Linked DNA regions of Homo sapiens: regions 2, 3 and 4 are each linked to region 1. The links are contacts of gene promoters, found by promoter capture Hi-C in blood cells and fetal thymus (Javierre and others, 2016). All regions are on one chromosome and are shown on one strand. Each heading gives the region's core, a stretch centred on a gene start or on the middle of the fragment in contact. The rest is flanking DNA. Distances are from core to core; before and after follow the strand shown.

What was found. Contacts are between HindIII fragments. The CHiCAGO score rates a contact against its expected background, and 5 or more counts as called.
Region 2: a fragment that was not itself captured here is called in contact with the fragment with the promoter of TAF2 in region 1 in 3 of 17 cell types (total B cells, fetal thymus and naive B cells); the score reaches 6.2 in total B cells.
Region 3: a fragment that was not itself captured here is called in contact with the fragment with the promoter of TAF2 in region 1 in 6 of 17 cell types (total B cells, naive B cells, total CD8 T cells and 3 more); the score reaches 9.2 in total B cells.
Region 4: a contact is called between a fragment that was not itself captured here and the fragment with the promoter of TAF2 in region 1, in 2 of 17 cell types (naive B cells and erythroblasts). The highest score is 5.5, in naive B cells.

The regions. Positions count from the first base shown.
Region 1 is chr8:119,831,476-119,834,141 of GRCh38, reverse strand. It overlaps TAF2 (TATA-box binding protein associated factor 2), which reads left to right and starts at 1,301. Exons shown (of 26, transcript NM_003184.4): 1 at 1,301-1,660; 2 at 2,411-2,465. The coding sequence starts at 1,578. It overlaps DSCC1 (DNA replication and sister chromatid cohesion 1), which reads left to right. Exons shown (of 9, transcript NM_024094.3): 9 at 1-166. LOC105375728 (a long non-coding RNA gene) reads right to left here and starts at 1,263. Exons shown (of 4, transcript XR_928590.3): 1 at 1,066-1,263. RefSeq lists enhancers at 1,180-1,539, 1,600-1,649. The HindIII fragment of the contact is 3,868 bases long and covers 1-1,375 here.
Region 2 is chr8:120,463,098-120,465,763 of GRCh38, reverse strand. It overlaps MTBP (MDM2 binding protein), which reads right to left. Exons shown (of 22, transcript NM_022045.5): 10 at 2,003-2,072. Among named protein-coding and RNA genes, the nearest start is that of MTBP, 19 kb to the right of the region's middle. The HindIII fragment of the contact is 895 bases long and covers 867-1,761 here.
Region 3 is chr8:120,427,013-120,429,678 of GRCh38, reverse strand. All of the region lies in intron 3 of MRPL13 (mitochondrial ribosomal protein L13), which reads left to right. Among named protein-coding and RNA genes, the nearest start is that of MRPL13, 17 kb to the left of the region's middle. The HindIII fragment of the contact is 7,630 bases long and covers 1-2,666 here.
Region 4 is chr8:120,404,281-120,406,946 of GRCh38, reverse strand. The region is part of intron 6 of MRPL13 (mitochondrial ribosomal protein L13); the gene reads left to right. Among named protein-coding and RNA genes, the nearest start is that of MRPL13, 40 kb to the left of the region's middle. The HindIII fragment of the contact is 2,110 bases long and covers 267-2,376 here.

The DNA of each region.
Region 1 (2,666 bases), core at 52-2,551:
AGGGGGTAGGCCGAGGTTAAATGGTCCACGTTTCAAAAATGTTAATGGCTAATCCATAATTAAAGAAGGTTTAACTGTTACTGAAGTTTACAAGTTTTATTGTCATGAACATGAAATACAAACACGATGGCTTCGAAATGTCTTTCAATAAATGTTTCTGCATTTATATGGATTATATGATATATATACACAGTCTATATATCTCTATGTAGTCTATTTATTTATTTTGAGAGGGAGTCTCGCTTTGTCTCCCAGACTGGAGTGCAATGGCATGATCTCAGCTCACTGCAAACTCGGCTTCCCGAGTTCAGGTGATTCTGGTGCCTCACCCTCCCGAGTGGCTGGGAATACAGGCGCACGCCACGACGCAGGGCTAATTTTTGTATTTTTACTAGAGACGGGCTTTCACCATGTTGGCCAGGCTGGTCTTGAACTGCTGACCTCAAGTGATATGACTGCCTCAGTTTCCCTAAGTGCTAGGATTACAGGCGTGAGCCACCACGCCTGGCCTGTAGTCTATATTTTATTCTTTTTTTTTTTTTCTGAGACAGTCTCAGCTCTGTCGCCCAGGCTGGAGTGCAGTGGAACGATCTCAGCTCGCTGCAACTTCCGTCTCCCAGGTTCAAGCAATTCTCCTGCCCCAGCCTCCCAAGTAGCTGGGATTACAGGCGTGCACCACCACGCCCAGCTAATTTTGTGTAATTTTTAGTAGAGACGGGGTTTCACCATGTTGGTCAGGCTGGTCTCGAACTCCTGACCTCAAATGATCGGCCCGCCTCGGCCTCCCAAAGTGTTGGGATTACAGGAGTGAGCCACTGCGCCCGGCCTTGTAATCTATATTTTAAAATAAATACTAAGGCAGCAGTGCCTAGTGAGAGCTGTGGAGTGCTGCAGTTTTGACATTTAGACTACCTGCAGTCTAATCACATATTTTACAGCTTAAATCACCGGACCCAGTGTGTCTGTTCACACAGCAAGCCAGAGGCACGCACCTCCTGATTTCGGGAGACTTCCCACCACCCCACCCCGCCCAGTTACTAGCACCCTGCCCCAGCCTATTTATACCTGGCTCTTCGCAAACTTTGTCCTCCATTCTTCTCAATATGCTTGTACTAGAAAACTACCTTCCCTCCTTTTCTTCCTGCTGTTCTCGCTTCATCCATTAAATAGTTTTTTCCCTATCCTAAATTTTAACAATTCTTTACGATAAGACACATGCGAAGATCGCAAGCCCTGCCCATTGACAAGACTTCCTGGTTCTACCCCCGCCGCCGTTCCACTTCCGCTGACGTCGGAGGTCAGAGGTTACAGACAAGATGTCGGCGGATGGTAGCTTCGAGCCCTTGCGGAGAGGAGCATCTCTGTGACAGAAGCTTGTCGACGGCGGCTTCTAGGAGCTAGTCGAAGGAGCGAGGTTGAGGCGGGCAGCGACCCGTCAGGTCGCTCACCTGGGCACCGGCCAGCTGCGAGACGTGACTTGGGGACCGCAGGGGAGTGGAGAGTGTGAGGTGCCAAAGACTAGTAATGCCCCGTATCCCCCTAGGAAGCCGGGAAGCCAAGCTCCGCGGGACCGCTTCATGCCGCTGACTGGTGTAGAGCCCGCCAGAATGAACAGGAAGAAAGGAGACAAGGGCTTTGAAAGCCCAAGGCCATATAAATTATAAGTATTTTTTCATTTCCCTTCCTTCCTTTTGGTTTTGTTGCCATTAATTATATTTTGCGATTGCTTGAAATTGACTTGGTGGGCCTGGGAAACCTAGTGGGAAACTAGAATTTACTCACTGTGATGGAAATGGTGTTTGTAAGGTAAAAATGTTTTGAATGACAGGTTATTCAGCAAATTTAATTCCCGTTGCAAGTTACTAAAGTTTTTGTCTAAGTACTAGATTGTATTTCTGTCAAATCTGTTTTCGTGACTGTTGCTAGATTTTAAAAAATTATCCCAATTGGTAGAGTGTTTTTTTTTTTTTAATTTTTTAATTTTTAAGACGGAGTCTCTCAGTCGCCCAGGCTGGAGTGCAACGGCGCGATCTCGGCTCACTGCAGCCTCCACCTGCCGGGTTCAAGCTTTTCTCCTGGCTCAGCCTCCTGAGTAGCCGGGATTACAGGCGTGTGCCACGATGCCCGGCTAACTTTTGTATTTTTAGTAGAGACTCGGTTTCACTCTGTTGGCCAGGCTGGTCTCGAACTCTTGACCTCGTGATCCGCTTGCCGTGGCCTCCCAAAGTGCTGGGATTACAGGCGTGAGCCACCGCACCAGGCCCCAATTCGTAGTTTTAAAATGAAATATTGACATGTAATTTTGAATTACTTAGAACATAGTCCTAATTTATACTTGGATAGAATTATACTTTGATTTAATAATAAAAATTATTTTTTCCTTATTTTCTTTTTATATTTATTAATATACAACCCATCAGGTCGTCTGCATCAACAACATAAATTTCCAGAGAAAATCTGTTGTGGTAAGTTTATTCTCAACAATTATAAATAGTAACAAGTCCACTATAAAGAGTAACAATCCACCCCTCACAGTACTTAGAAAGTTTGTAGTCTTCCAGATAATTGTGTTTCAAGAATAGGTAAGAATTAAAATTAGGGTCTGTATGATTACAAGTTCCATGGTCCTTCTATTAATACCTATTGCCTCCCAAATTCTCCCTTTC
Region 2 (2,666 bases), core at 65-2,564, 630 kb before region 1:
CACTTGAACCCGGGAGGCAGAGGTTGCGGTGAGCTGAGATCGCGCCACTGCTCTCCAGCCTGGGTGACAGAGCGAGACTCCGTCTCAAAAAAAAAAAAAAAAAAAAAAGTCTCTATAAGATTTCTACAAATTTCTCTGTAAAATTTCTATAAATTTCATCATACCTTCAAATTACTTAGAGAATATCTAATATCTAGCGCTTTATACTTTTAAGGAAACTGCTTCACATATGTGTGTCCATCATTTGGGCCACATAAACTTCAAAGACAATAAAAAATTAGTTAGCAACCATCATTTATATCATACTTGGTAGTTTATAAAATACATTTCAATTTGGTTTTTATTACAACTCTGAAATAGGTAACAGAGGGATTATTATTTCCAGTTTACAATATTAAGAGCTGTAAGCCAGTGAGTGGCATAGCTATGGCTTAAAGTCAAGTTTTCTAAAAAACATGCTCTTCTATTTAAGACTTTCTACTATACCATCTATATTCCTTTCCTCCCTTATTTGGCAATATAGATAATTAATGATAAATAACAATTTTCTCAATCCATACAAGGAAGCATCTCCAAAAAATTAGGTGACTGGACAGGGATATACAGAGAGCTACTTGGCTACCTGGATTAAAATAGAAGCAGGGTATTTTTTATTCTCAGTGCACTTAAAAAATATATACTAATTCATAAGCTGTCTCTGCAAATAGTTTGGAGAAATGTATGGCCTTATTAATCTCTATCTAAACTAGGGTCTCTTGACTTATTCCCTATCTCAGGCTGTTTATTTCTTCATAATTCTTATTATGTCTGTAGTTATTTATTTTCTGTTGGTCCCCTAAAATGTAAGTTCCACAAATACAGAAGCTTCTTCTGTACACTTCATTACTGGGTTCCCGAAATCTAGTATAGTACCTCATACACAGTAGAATATATGTTGGATAAATGATAAAAGATAAATTTTAAAATTTCAAAATTTAGTAAATTAGTTATTCTTAGAGGATGAAAGCCAGGTTAATATTGGTAAAGGCCACTTCATCAAATAAATACTTTGTCGTCCTATTCAAAGGACTATTAAATTTATGGAAAAAGAGGCCAGAAGCCAAAATTTTAAGTTACTATATAGTCAAATATACATCTTAAGGTCAAAATCATTTTTCCTTTACTATATCGATTTTCTATAGGAATTATAACCAAGACTTGATTTTAGCACCATAGGGAAACTGTTATAATTATAATAATCACTTTCTCCCTGCAGGACTATTTGCTAGTCTACTTGTTATTAAAACAATAAGAAAATGTAATGTAAGTACTGCCAATAAAGATTTTGTGCATTAAAAATTGTTTTCACAGAAACATAACAGTTGAATAAATAACTAGAAAAAAAGCAAACTTTCACTTTTTCCTATTAGAAACTGAATTTGATTTCAAATAGATGAGTCCACTTAAAATTCTTTATATTGTAATTTTTTTAAAGTTAAAAATATACCAATTTTACATCATTATATATACAAAATAACTGTTAAAGTAGCCATAAATCTCCTAAACATCATCAGAATTTAGAAAGAAAAATTGAAAACTCCCAAATGACAATTTAGTAGAACTTTAGCTTTTTCCACTTTCATCCCCTGCCCTACAATGAGAAAAAGAATGCAAGTATATGAATGTCTTCTCATAAAATTGAAATCGCATGTTGAAGAAGTAGGTTAACAATAACATGTTATAAAATTTTAAAACTTTAAAGCAATTACCAGTCATAAAGCTTATTTCTGAAAATATCTCCTAAAAACAAAATGTCACTTATGTTTGCAGAGTACTTTTACAGTTATTATGAAAAGTCCAAAGTATCTTAATATGAGTTAGGACCAAAATTATCCTATATTACATTAAAGAAACCAAGTCATCAAGCAAACAGATTAATAAGTTACATTCCCTTTTCTTACACATCCTTAAATGGCAAGTATAAAAACAAACAAACAAAAAACCCCCAAGAAACCCTCAATACCTTGCTACACAGAGAAGAAATCTGCTCCAACAGCAACACAGAATTCTGTTTGGTACTGTTTGTCAATCCTCTGTACTAAGGAGTTAAAGAAATGATGTAATGGTACCCATGAAACAATGTACTCCTTAAAATAAGTTTCATTATTTCAATTCTTCCACAGTTGCTTAAATTCATCTATTAAAAAATTTAACTGTAGCAGTTAACAATTACGCCTTTCCCTAAGGATAAGTATTTTTCCAATTATTTGTTTGATTCTGAAAATATGCTAAGAAACAGTGCTACTATATAGAGCATTACTATAAACTATAAGAACAAGAAATTTATAAAAACTGTAGCTCCTAAATAAAAATTCAAAAACACTATGCTAGTGTTTCATTTCCAGCCAATAACAATTTCTTTTTATATAAAATGTTCTGTTCTTAGGTGTATTTCTAAACATGCTTATATATTTTTAAAAGAGAGTTTAAAATATGTTGAATATATTTGCAGATACATGTGATACCATTTATATTTACTTAAATACATAAAATGATACATCAGCTGACTGATTCTTAGGTTTCTTCATGCTGATGGCAGGAGAAACATTTAAACATTTTTTAAGTTTATAAATTACTTGTTTTATTTTCCACAGATTCCTAACATTTCTCCCTCCTCTCTACACCAT
Region 3 (2,666 bases), core at 46-2,545, 600 kb before region 1:
TTCACTTAATAGAAAATTCTCAGAGAACCTTTTTGTAAGTATTATTTTTGGTTACTAAGTAGTAGTGCACAAAATGATTTACGATACTTGATCATTGTTCTGTTTTTTGAAATGAAAATTTTGGCTTTTATAAGGGGCTGATAAACATCTTTTTTTTCAATTCTTGTTTTTTGTTTTTTTTTTTTAACTTTTAAGTTCAGTTACATGTGCAGGTTTGTTACATAAGTAAACTTGTATCATGGGGGTTTGTTGTACAGGTTATTTCATCACCCAGGTATTAAGCCCAGTACCCATTAGTTATTTTCCTCTCTCTACTCCCACCCTCCACCCTCCAATAGGCCTCAGTGTGTGTTGTTCCCCTCTATGTGTACTTGTGTTTTCATCATTGAGCTTCCACTTATAAGTGAGAATATGCAGTATTTGGTTTTCTGTTCTTGTGTTAGTTTGCTTAGAATAATAGCCTCCAGCTGCATCCATGTTGCTGCAAAGGACATGATCTTGTTCTTTTTTTTATGGCTATGTAGTATTTCATGGTATATATGTACTACATTTTCTTTATCCAATCTACCTTTGATGGGCATGTAGGTTAATTCCATGTCTTTACTATAATGAATAGTGCTGCAGTGAACACACATGTGGATGTGTCTTCATAATAGAACAATTTATATTTCTTAGGGTATGTACCTAGGAATGGGATTGCTGGGTCAAATGGTATTTCTGTCTGTAGGACTTTGAGGAATCGCCACACTGTCTTCCACAGTGGTTGAACACTCCCACCAACAGTGTAAAATTCCCACCAACAGTGTAAAAGCATTCCTTTTTCTCTACAGCCTTGCCAGCATCTGTTATTTTTTGACTTTTTAATAGTAGCCATTCTCACTGGTGTGAGATGGCATCTCATTGTGGTTTTGATTTGCATTTCTCTAATGATCAGTGATTTTGAGCTTTTTTTCATGATTGTTGGCCATATGTACGTCTTCTTTTGGAAAGGGTATGTTCCTGTCCTTTGCCCACTTTTTAATGGGGTTTGTTTTTTCTTCTTGTAAATTTAAGTTCCTTATGATGCTGGATATTAGACCTTTGTCAGATGCATAGTTTGCAAAAATTTTCTCCCATTCTGTAGGTGTCTGTTTATTCTGTTAGTTTCTTTTGTTGTGCAGAAGCTCTTTAGTTTAATTACATCCCATCTGTCAATTTATGCTTTTGTTGCAATTGCAGTTTGCATCTTTGTCATGAAATCTTTGCCCATGCCTGTGTTCTTAATGATATTGCCTAGGTTGTCTTCCAGGGTTTTTATAGTTTTGGGTTTTACAGTTAAGTCTGGAATCCATCCTGAGTTAATTTTTGTATGTGGTATAAGGAAGGGGTCCAGTTTCAATCTTCTGCATATGGCTAGCCAGTTCTCCCAGCACCATTTATTGAACAGGGAATCCTTTCTCCATTGCTTTTTTGGCCAGGTTTGTCAAAGATCAAATAGTTGTAGGTGTGTGGTCTTATTTCTGGGTTTTTTTCCACTGGTGTATGTGTCTGGTTTTTTTTTTTTTTTTTTTTTATCAGTACCATGCTGTTTTGGTTACTGTAGCCCTGTAGTATAGTTTGAAGCTGGGTAGCGTGATGCCTCCAGCTTTGTTCTTTTTGTTTAGGATCGCCTTGGCTATTCAGGCTCTTTTTTGGTTTCATATGAATTTTGAAATATTTTTTTCTAGTTCTGTGAAGAGTCTCAGTGGTAGTTTAATAGGAATAGCATTGAATCTATAAATTGCTTTGGGCAGTATGGCCATTTTAACAATACTGATTCTTCCTATCCATGAGCATGGAGTGTTTTTCCGTTTGTCTGTGTCATCTCTGATTGCTTTTTATTATTAAAGTTTTTTTTCTTTTGAGATGGGGGCTCACTGTGTTGCCCAGGCTGGTCTTGAACTTGTGGGCTCAAGAAGTCCTCACACCTCAGCCTTCCACAGTACTGGGATTACAGGCATGAGCCATCATACCCAGCCTTCATCTCTGGTTTCTTTGGGCAGTAGTTTGTAGTTCTCATTATAGAGATCTTTCACCTCCCTAATTAGCTGTATTCCTAAGTATTTTATTCTTTTTGTGGCAGTTGTGAATGGGAGTACATTCCTGATTTGACTCTCCGCTTGACTGTTGCTGGTGTCTAGGAATGTTAGTGACTTTTTGCTAGTGATTTTTGCACATTGATTTTGTATCCTGTGATGTCTTTGTCCATTGATTTTTTTCATATATGTAGGATTATTTAAAATAAATCCCTGGAAGTGTAATGTGTTTTGATATCAAAGGAATGATCATTTATAGGTCTTTTGATAGGTATTTTCAATCATGAGTTTTCTAATCCATAGAAGAGCATACAAATGTTTGTTATCCCAAATCTGTGCAGGCACAGTATTATCTTTAAAAATAAGGCTGTTGTCTTTTGATATGCAGCTGAATATTTACATTTACTTAATAATGAAGTTTCAGTGTTACTTTATCACTTTCTATGGACGTTTTATCTATTAAGATTATTAATCCACTTTTGTTTTTTACTTTTAACAAAATTTTTATGTCATTTACTGTAGTTATTTAATTTTATATTATTACATGCCTTTTCCTTTGTAATTTCTTCTGTTTTCCAGTCTCAGAAATTCTTTCTTGTTCAGATTTTCATA
Region 4 (2,666 bases), core at 72-2,571, 570 kb before region 1:
AAGTTCTGTTTTCTCACTCAAAATGTAATACTATTTTCGAAAGTTACTTTGTATAAAGGCAGTTTTTGCTAGTGACAAGTATCTGCAAAATAGATAGTTGTTACAGAACATTTGATAGCTATGGAAAGTTTAGCACAATTTAGAGAATGAATTAAGGAAAGTTTTATGTTAGCTATTTCTTAGATGATTCATTAATCTCCCAAGTATATTTTAAGCACATAAATGAAAATTTAAAACTTTCGTCTTTCACTTCAAAGATCAAAGCTTGTGTGTGTTTCATATATTTTTATATATAAGTATACTATATATAAATTGTATATAAAATATATATCATAGCTGTATTAGATAACAATTACACACACACACACACACACACACACACACACACACATGCACACATATATAATCCACTGTTAGAAACTGCTTTATAAAGATGAGGACTGGGTCCTGCTCACTACTTTATTCCCGGCGCCCACAGCAGGACCTGACCAGTCAATTTGTTGAATAAATGAATGCATGAATGGAATCATATCCTCCCTGAAAGGGAAATTGATGTTCAGTTCATGAAGTGTGATAAATTCATGTTTTGGGTTTTGCTCCTTACTTAAATCTTGTCTAACTATAACTAAAATAGACATTTTTCTTAACAGGCCTTACTTTAATGCAACTCTAATATATACAATTTTGGATACTTTGTATTACATGTCTAAAGAACAATCATGGTAATTTCATTAAAATACAACTTATATTTCTGTCAAGGAGTAAATTTGTATAATTTATATGAAAAAAATTGACAGGTGTTAGCTTTCAGAAATGGCATTTGAAATATCCCTCTAAAGATTTCCTGTGATTATTTTAGAATACTGTTATTATTTACAAATATATTAACCTTATATAACATTAACGCACATTTTAAAACTACATAATTTGTTATTTCCAATGAAACAGTGACAAAGAAGTAGGGCTAATGTACAATATACATTCACCTATCATCCCTCTTTTAAAAGATTAAGCCGTTTCATTTAAGTTTCAAATATTTAAGCATTCATAGTATGAAAAGTAATGTGCTAGATGCCACCCTTCTTGTTTTTAAAAACTATTTAATCTAGTGAAGAGATTAGGTCACCTCAGCACAAAATAGGGTATGTAAGCAACATAATCTGAGAATTCAATTCTAGTTTGCATGTTACCATATATGGGTTACCAACTTTTAAAGAACCTAAATACATTTGCTGAGTACTAAAGCTGCTTGAACTACAGTTTGGGAGAAAAGAACCAGGAAAGATACTGTGTATCAAATGGAGTCATCTCTAGTTTAGGAAGAAGTATGTGTGTTACCTTCTGTTAGATAGTATTAGTAATTTCTTACTGAAGGTGCTCCTCTGTCTTATAAATAGCTCTGTCTTTGGTCTAAGGGGAACCCATGCTAATTAGAATGTGGTCCATAAACCAGCAATGCATCAAGTGGGAACTTGTTAGGATTGCCAAATCGTGAGCCCCTCCACAGAATAAGTGAAATCAGGACCTGCATTCTCATAAGAATCCAAGCAATTTGTATGCCTGCTGAAGTTTGAGAAACACAGACATAAATAGCCCTCTCCTCCCCTTTCTTATATTACCTTGAATTTCGTTGTTTTAGTGGAAAGGAATAAGCAATACAGAAAAGTTGTGTGTATGCTTGTTTTCATTTCTGTTTGAGACAGAGAGAAGTAAAACCATATTTAGTGTAAAAACCTCTCTTTTCCCCACAGGGGAACCTCCTGAAAAATGTGTATCATTAATTGCCTCCAGTATGAGTTGATGTTTCCAGCTGTGCCACTATCTTAACTATCTAGTCTTTGGCCATGATACTGCTTTTCCCCCTTTGGAAGCAAATTAACCATCTGGAAAATATCCCGATTATTTAAAGATGAATTTGCACATGAAGTGGCATTTTCAAGGGGGTCACTGTACTCTGTACTGTGCTCAGATATACTAGGCATCCACTGTGTATCAGGCATTACCGTGGCTGCTGGGAGTATAAGATAATCATATCAGGGCCCTGCCTTCAAAGGACTGGCAGCCTAAGAGGCATCATATAGAATAAAATGGTGCTTGCAAGCACCGGAGTCAAATTGTTTACACTCAGATCCCTGCCATCTACCTCCTAGCTGTGTATCCTTAGCCAAGTTACTGAGCTACTCTGAGCCTAAGTTTTGTCACTGTAGAATGAAACTAATAACAGTGTCTTTCTTACAAAGTAGTTGTGAGGATAAAATAATTCATGTGAAGTCTTTATTATACTTTGTGGCATCTAATGAGCACTCAGCATGTGTTATTTACAAGGAAGAGCCAGTATGATTAGAGAAACATTGTAGTAGAAGCATGCATTAAGCTTTCTGGCAATCCTAGAGAAAGGAGCCCAGTCTGTGTTAGAAAGGAATTGTTGTGAAGAGCTTGACAGAAAATGTAACGTTTGAGGTGGATTTTGAAAGATTAGTCATGGTTGCCAGGCAGAGAAAAGACAAAGAGGAAATTTGCTTTGAGGTCAATGTCCACATTCCTTTATGTGGTGGATTATACCATTCAATTTTACTTCTAAATTCCACTGAAAGGTGGTATTGTCATTTCATTTCAATTAAATAAATTAACCTTTTGTGTGGAAACAACTGGTGACTGTGACTAAA